Regions from separate parts of the Homo sapiens genome. Here region 1 is linked to region 2. The links are contacts of gene promoters, found by promoter capture Hi-C in blood cells and fetal thymus (Javierre and others, 2016). All regions are on one chromosome and are shown on one strand. Each heading gives the region's core, a stretch centred on a gene start or on the middle of the fragment in contact. The rest is flanking DNA. Distances are from core to core; before and after follow the strand shown. Region 1 overlaps CTB-1I21.1 (a long non-coding RNA gene). Region 2 holds the start of TRPC7 (transient receptor potential cation channel subfamily C member 7).

Region 1 (3,228 bases), core at 280-2,779, 390 kb after region 2:
AATATATATGCCCCCAATATTGGAGCACCTAAATTTGTAAAGCAATTATTAAATAATCTGAAGGGAGAGATAGAATGAGTTACTATTATAGTATGGTGCCTCAATACCCCACTTTGGACAATGGGCATATTATCTAGACAGAAAATTAATAAACATTGGTCTTGAATTATACTTTAGACCAAATGGACCTGACAGACATATACAGCACATTCCATCCAACAACAAAATACACACTCTTCTGAAGTACACAGGGAACATCTTCCAAGGTAGATCATATTTTAGGCCACAAAACAAATCTCAACACATGTAAGAGGAATGAGGTCATATCACGTATCATTTCAGATCTCAATGGCATAAAACTATAAATCAATAACAGGAGAAATCTTGGAAAATACAGAAATATGTGGCACATATTTCTGTTACAGTTTCAGTACACAGATCTTTTACCTCCTTGATTAAATTTAGACCTAAGTATTTAATTTTTTTGGTTGCTATTGTAAGTGGGATTACTTACTTAATTTGCTATTCAGATAGCTTGTTATTAGTATAAGGAAATGTTCCTAATTTTTGTATGTTGATTTTGTAACCTGAAACTTTACAGAATTTATCAGTTTTAACAGTTTTTTGGTGATGCATTTATGGTTTTCTATACATAAGATCATGTCATCAGCAAATAGACTTGCATTTCCCTAATGATTAGTGATGTGGAGCACACTAATAGGTCACAGAAGAAATAAAAAAGGAAATAAAAAATACCTTGAGACAAACACAAATGAAAACACAACATACCAAAACTTAGGAAAAGCAGCCCTAAGAGGAAAATTTATAGCAACAAATACCTATATATAAAAAAAATTCACAATCTACTGTTATAACTCAATAAATTGGTAAAAGAACAAACTAAGCCCAAAGTGAGCAGAAGAGAGGACATAGCAAAGATCAGAGTAGAAATAACTGAAATAGAGACTAGAAAAACAATAGAAACATTGATAAAACTGAAAGTTAGTTTTTTGAAAAGGTTAAAAAAGAAAAGACAAACCCTTAGCTAGACCAACTAGGAAAAAAAGAATAACTGCTCAAATAAATAACATCACAAATGAAAGAGGAGACATTACAACTGATACCACCAAAATACAATAGATAATAAGAAACTAATATGAACAAGTATATGCCAACAAATTGTAAAACCAAGAACAAATGGATAAATTCCTAGATACATACAACCTACCAAGAATGAAGAATGAAGAAATAGAAAATCTGATTTGACCAGATTTTCTGGTCAAATCATGAGTAAGGGATTGAATCAGTAGTTAAAAAAAAAAAAATCTCTCACCAAAGAAAAGCCCAGAATCAGACAGCTTCACTACTGATTCTTTCCAACACTTAAAGAAGAACTAATACAAATTCTTCACGAATCCTTCCCAAAAAATCATGGTAGAAAGAATACTTCTGAACTTGTTTTACAAGGCTAGCATTACCTTTTTACCAAGGCCAGACAAGGACACTACAAGAAAAGAAAATTACAAGCCAATATCCCTGGTGAACACAGATGTAAAATCCTCAATAAAATATCAGCAAACTAAATTAAAGAGCACATTGAAAGAATAATTTACCATGAACAAGTAGGATTTATCCCTGGGATGCAATGATGCTTCAATATATGCAAATCAATAAATGAAATATACCACATTAATGAAATGAAGGATAAACGTTATATGATCATCTCAACAGATACATAAAAACTATTTGACAAAATTCAACGTTCCTTCATGATTAAGAAAAAACTCTCAACAGATTAGGTATACAGGGAATTATCTGAACAAAACAAAGCCCATACATGACAAACCCGTAGCTAACATCATTCTCGATGAAAATTTGAAAGCTGTTCATCTGCGATCAGGGACAAGACAAGGATGCCACTCTCACCACTTCTTTTCAACATAGTATTGGATGTTCTAGCCAGAGCAATTAAGCATGAGAAAGAAACAAGAGACATTCTAATAGAAAGGGAAGAAGTAAAATTATCTCTATTTGCTGATGACATGATCTTATGTATGGAAAACATAAATGCTTCACTAAAAATCTGTTAAAACTGATAAATTCAGTAAAGTTTCAGATTACAAAATCAACATACAAAAATGAGGAACATTTCCTTATACTAATAACAAGCTATCTGAATATCAAATTAAGTAAGTAATCCCACTTACAATAGCAACCAAAAAAATTAATACTTAGGTCTAAATTTAATCAAGGAGGTAAAAGATCTGTGTACTGAACCTGTAAAACACTGATGAAAGAAATTGAAGAGAACAGAAATAAATGGGAAGATATCGCATGTACATGAATTGGAAGAATTAATGTGAAAATGCCCATACTACCCAAAACAATCTACAGATTCAATGTAATTCCTGTCAAAATTCCAATGTCATTTTTTAAGGAATGGCCAAAACAATCCTTAAATTCATGTGGAGCCACAGAAGACCCCAACAAGTGTCTAATATCCAGAATCTATAAGGAACTTAAATAAATCAACAAGCAATAAACAAACAGCCTCATTTAAAGATGGGCAAATGACATGAGCAGACACTTCTCAAAAGAGACATACACATGGCCAAAAAGTATATTAAAAAATGCTCAGTATCACTAATCATTAGGGAAATGCAAATCTAAACTACAATGAGATGCCACCTCACACTAGTCAGAATAACTATTATTAATAAAATCAATAAACAGCACGTGCTGGCAAGGTTGTGGAGAAAAGGGAATGCTTATATACTACTGGTGGGAATGTAAATTAGTTCAGTCATTAGTTTCAGTCATTAGTAAATTAATTCAGTGGAAAGCAGTCTAGAGATTTCTGAGAGAACTTAGAATTATAATTTGACACAGCAATCCCATTAGTGGGTACATACCCAAAGGAATATAAGTCATTCTATCATAAAGAGACACACACACACATGTTCATCACAGCACTAGTCACAATACCGAAGACATGGAATCAATCTAAATGCCCATCAATAATGGATTGGATAAAGAAAATGTGGTGCATATACACCACAGAATACTATGCAGCCATAAAAATGAAATCATGCTCTTGGCAGCAACATGGATGAAGCTGGAGGTGATTATCTTAAGTGAATTAATACGGGAACATAAAACCAAATACTACATGTTCTCACTTATAAGTGGGAGCTAAACATTGAGTATACGTGGACACAAAGAGGCCTA
Region 2 (3,206 bases), core at 448-2,947:
ATTTTCCTATTTGGAAGTTGGAAGTTATGAAACTGGATGTCTATATCTCATTGTGTATAGCTCCAGGTGGAGCTGAAACAAGTTTTGATAGCTTTATTTTTAAAAAAGATTTTTCTTGAAATAAAATAGATATGTGTAACCTTTTGATGATTTCACTGACCTCTATGATAAGAGTCTGAAATAAACATCTACTACTGAGAAAGAAAGAGAGGCCCTTATATTATGAAATGACAATACTGAAAAAAAGTAACATGCTTAATATTTATATGGAGGGAAATGTTGATTGCCTTTACTAAGCAAGAGCTCCTGGTAGCTCTCATCCAAGATACCGCATGCATTCTGCAATTAGCCTCAATGAGGCTCCACATAGTTCTGATTTTTTTCTGGGTTAATTACTGCCTAAAGGAGTTATCTAGTCTACATGCACCTAAGTTTAGGAGCAAGTGTTTTTGGAAATAAATATTTATGAAAGGGTAATTGTGACATAGAAGTTTGGTAAGCTTTTAAATAATTGAATCAATGTCATTGTTAAAAAGATCTTGGAGATTGGGTTTGCATCACATCCATAATGAATATTCTGGATTTAATGTGAATTCATTCATAAATTTGATGTGTACTCGGTGCTTCAGAAATAAGACCCACCAGCAGGTGGCATTCTGAGGCAAAAATTCACTGAGTGCCACCAGACAGGGTCAATCATTATTGCCTTTTCTGAGTCTACCCTGAATCCATTACGCCTCTAAATTATAATTAATAGCAATAGCATTTTGGTTGTGTCTACTCAATCATAGGTAAATGAATTTACAACTTCAAACTTAAAGGGGAGATTATGAGAGTTTCAAAGCTCTGCCTAGATTACACCTCTTTCATTAGGAGCATATTTGTTATTTTGAAATGGATGTCTAAAGGAGATACATAGCTCAGACCATATTTTCAACAAGAAGAAAAGAAAAATGACAATCTCTTTCTTGCCACCTGTAGTTCTTTAACAGTGGCTACTTATTAGAATATAACCCTCTCCCTTCTCTCACCCCTATATTTATATTATGATAAATACAACCACATAAATACATTAGAAAGCTGTCAGTAGTGAAGGGAAAGAAGAGACAACACCTATACACTCATCTAGGAATAAAACTATATTACTCTAGCACAAAAGGAATAGGCTACCGACATGAGTTGTCCGTTTCTAAATGGCTTTGAAAACTTAGACATTCTATAAAAGAAAAAAAAAATTTCTTCTACCAACTCAACAAATAAGAAAGATCTCAGATCCATCTAAAAATCTAAGCAGTGCACTAGAGGAAGAAGGCTGATAAATGAAAGTTCAATTACATATTTTAGCGAGAACACAACCTCTACTGGAAAAAAAAATCAATATGAAAGAACCATCATAGCTGCTTACATTGAGGGTGTAATACGCAGGCTTGTTCCTCCTCTAGATGACCGGAATCCGGTGTTGAGTCGCCAGAAGCTGGCTCCCCATGGGTGGTAGCCAAGGATGTACCGCTCTCCGTGGTGCTGAAGTATAGAGCTGGTCAAGTGAGTTAAGTTGCAACGATGTGAAAGCGCGCTCCTCTGTTCTTTGTGTTGCAGTGGTAAAAACTCGCCTTCCGAGGCAGAACCGTGTTACCGTCCTTTTCCTAATCGGGGGGAAATTTCCCAGAGAACATGACGGAGAAGCATCTGTGTGAGAGTGGCATGCGGCGTGGTGATGGGTTGGTATAGTCCCCACCCCCTCTCCCCGACGTAGCTTGAAAGGGAGGTAGCAACTCTTTCTTCCTGCCATAGCTCCTCAGGATTTCTACCTGCCCTTTCCTCTGCCCCAGAATAGTACATCACACACACACACACACACACACACACACACACACACACACACACCTCGTTATATAAGGCAGCATGTTCTGACTTCTGAGGCAGAATATTCATTGGTTTAAACAAATGAGGAATGAGGAATGAGGAATGAGCTGGTTTCCTACCTGTTGTGTCTGTGTGTTTACAGAGGGAGGGGGTTAAGAAGAAAACTAAAACCAGAGAAGCCTAAAGAGCGATAGAAGTAGTTTTCTTCCGTAAGTCTCATCACCACACCACACTTTGTCTTCTGTGAGTGATGTATCTTCCAACTTTACTATTTTGGTTCATGATCTTTTAGCATTATCTAGGATCAGGAAGAGGTCAGTGGTGTAGAACAAGTCTCACATTAGTAACAAGACTAAAAGGGTTAGCTTTCATTTGCAACTTTCCATTTTTTGAAACGAAATTCTCAATCCAAAATACCATTTCCCCAACAGTTCCCACGCTCACCAATTGCTATGTAACCAAATGGTCTATGATTCTTAAACACTGAGGTACTTTAATGACATCATTGGAAAGAAACCGTCTTAACTGAAATATTGCCTGTGTATGAAAAACCACAGTTGCTTCTACAATCTACCTGGGTTACTTACCAATAAATCAGAGTGGTTATTTTCTGAAATCAACTCACAGCTTAATAACTGACACTCTGTAAAACTGTTGCTGTGTGCACTTGCAATACTTAGGGCTAAGGAGTTGCTTATAATGTATTGTACACATGACCATTCTAGTTTTACATCCAAATGAGATTGCATTGGTTTGTTAATATGCTACTAGTATTTTCTCTGAAGATAACATGATATGTGGGAAAAGACCTTGGGATTTTGATTCACTTATTAACTGTGTGACCTTAGACATAACACTTAACCTATTGAATCTCAGTCTTCTCATATGTGAATGGTTGGTAATAATAGGGTTTATAATGCCTTTTACCAATTGTCGTGGTGATAATTAATTGAAAAATCATGTACAAATAACTCCAAAGAGCTGGCATTTAAGGTGTGCATGATAAGTTTGAAAGTTCGTTTTAATTTTTTAAAAATTTGAGACAGGGTCTCACAGTGGTACAATCACGGATCACTGTAGCCTTGACCTCCCAGGCTCAAGTGATCCTCTTGCCTCACCCTCCACAGTGGCTGGGAATACAGGCACATACCATCAGACCTGGCTAATTTTTAATTTTTTAGTAGAGACCTTGTCCCACTATGTTGCCTAGGCTGGTGTCGAAATCCTGGGCTAAAGCTATCCTCCTGCCTCGACCTCACAAAGGGGTGGGATTACAGGCATAAGCCACAATACTCGACCCAGTTTGAATGTTCTTTCTCCTCTGCTTGCTCAATAGAAGTTAA

What was found. Contacts are between HindIII fragments. The CHiCAGO score rates a contact against its expected background, and 5 or more counts as called.
Region 1: a fragment that was not itself captured here is called in contact with the fragment with the promoter of TRPC7 in region 2 in 1 of 17 cell types (endothelial precursors); the score reaches 6.9 in endothelial precursors.

What each region holds. Positions count from the first base shown.
Region 1 is chr5:136,757,965-136,761,192 of GRCh38, forward strand. The region is part of intron 3 of CTB-1I21.1 (a long non-coding RNA gene); the gene reads left to right. Among named protein-coding and RNA genes, the nearest start is that of CTB-1I21.1, 25 kb to the left of the region's middle. The HindIII fragment of the contact is 3,798 bases long and covers 1-3,228 here.
Region 2 is chr5:136,363,848-136,367,053 of GRCh38, forward strand. TRPC7 (transient receptor potential cation channel subfamily C member 7) reads right to left here and starts at 1,698. Exons shown (of 12, transcript NM_020389.3): 1 at 1,406-1,698. The coding sequence starts at 1,407. The HindIII fragment of the contact is 9,012 bases long and covers 499-3,206 here.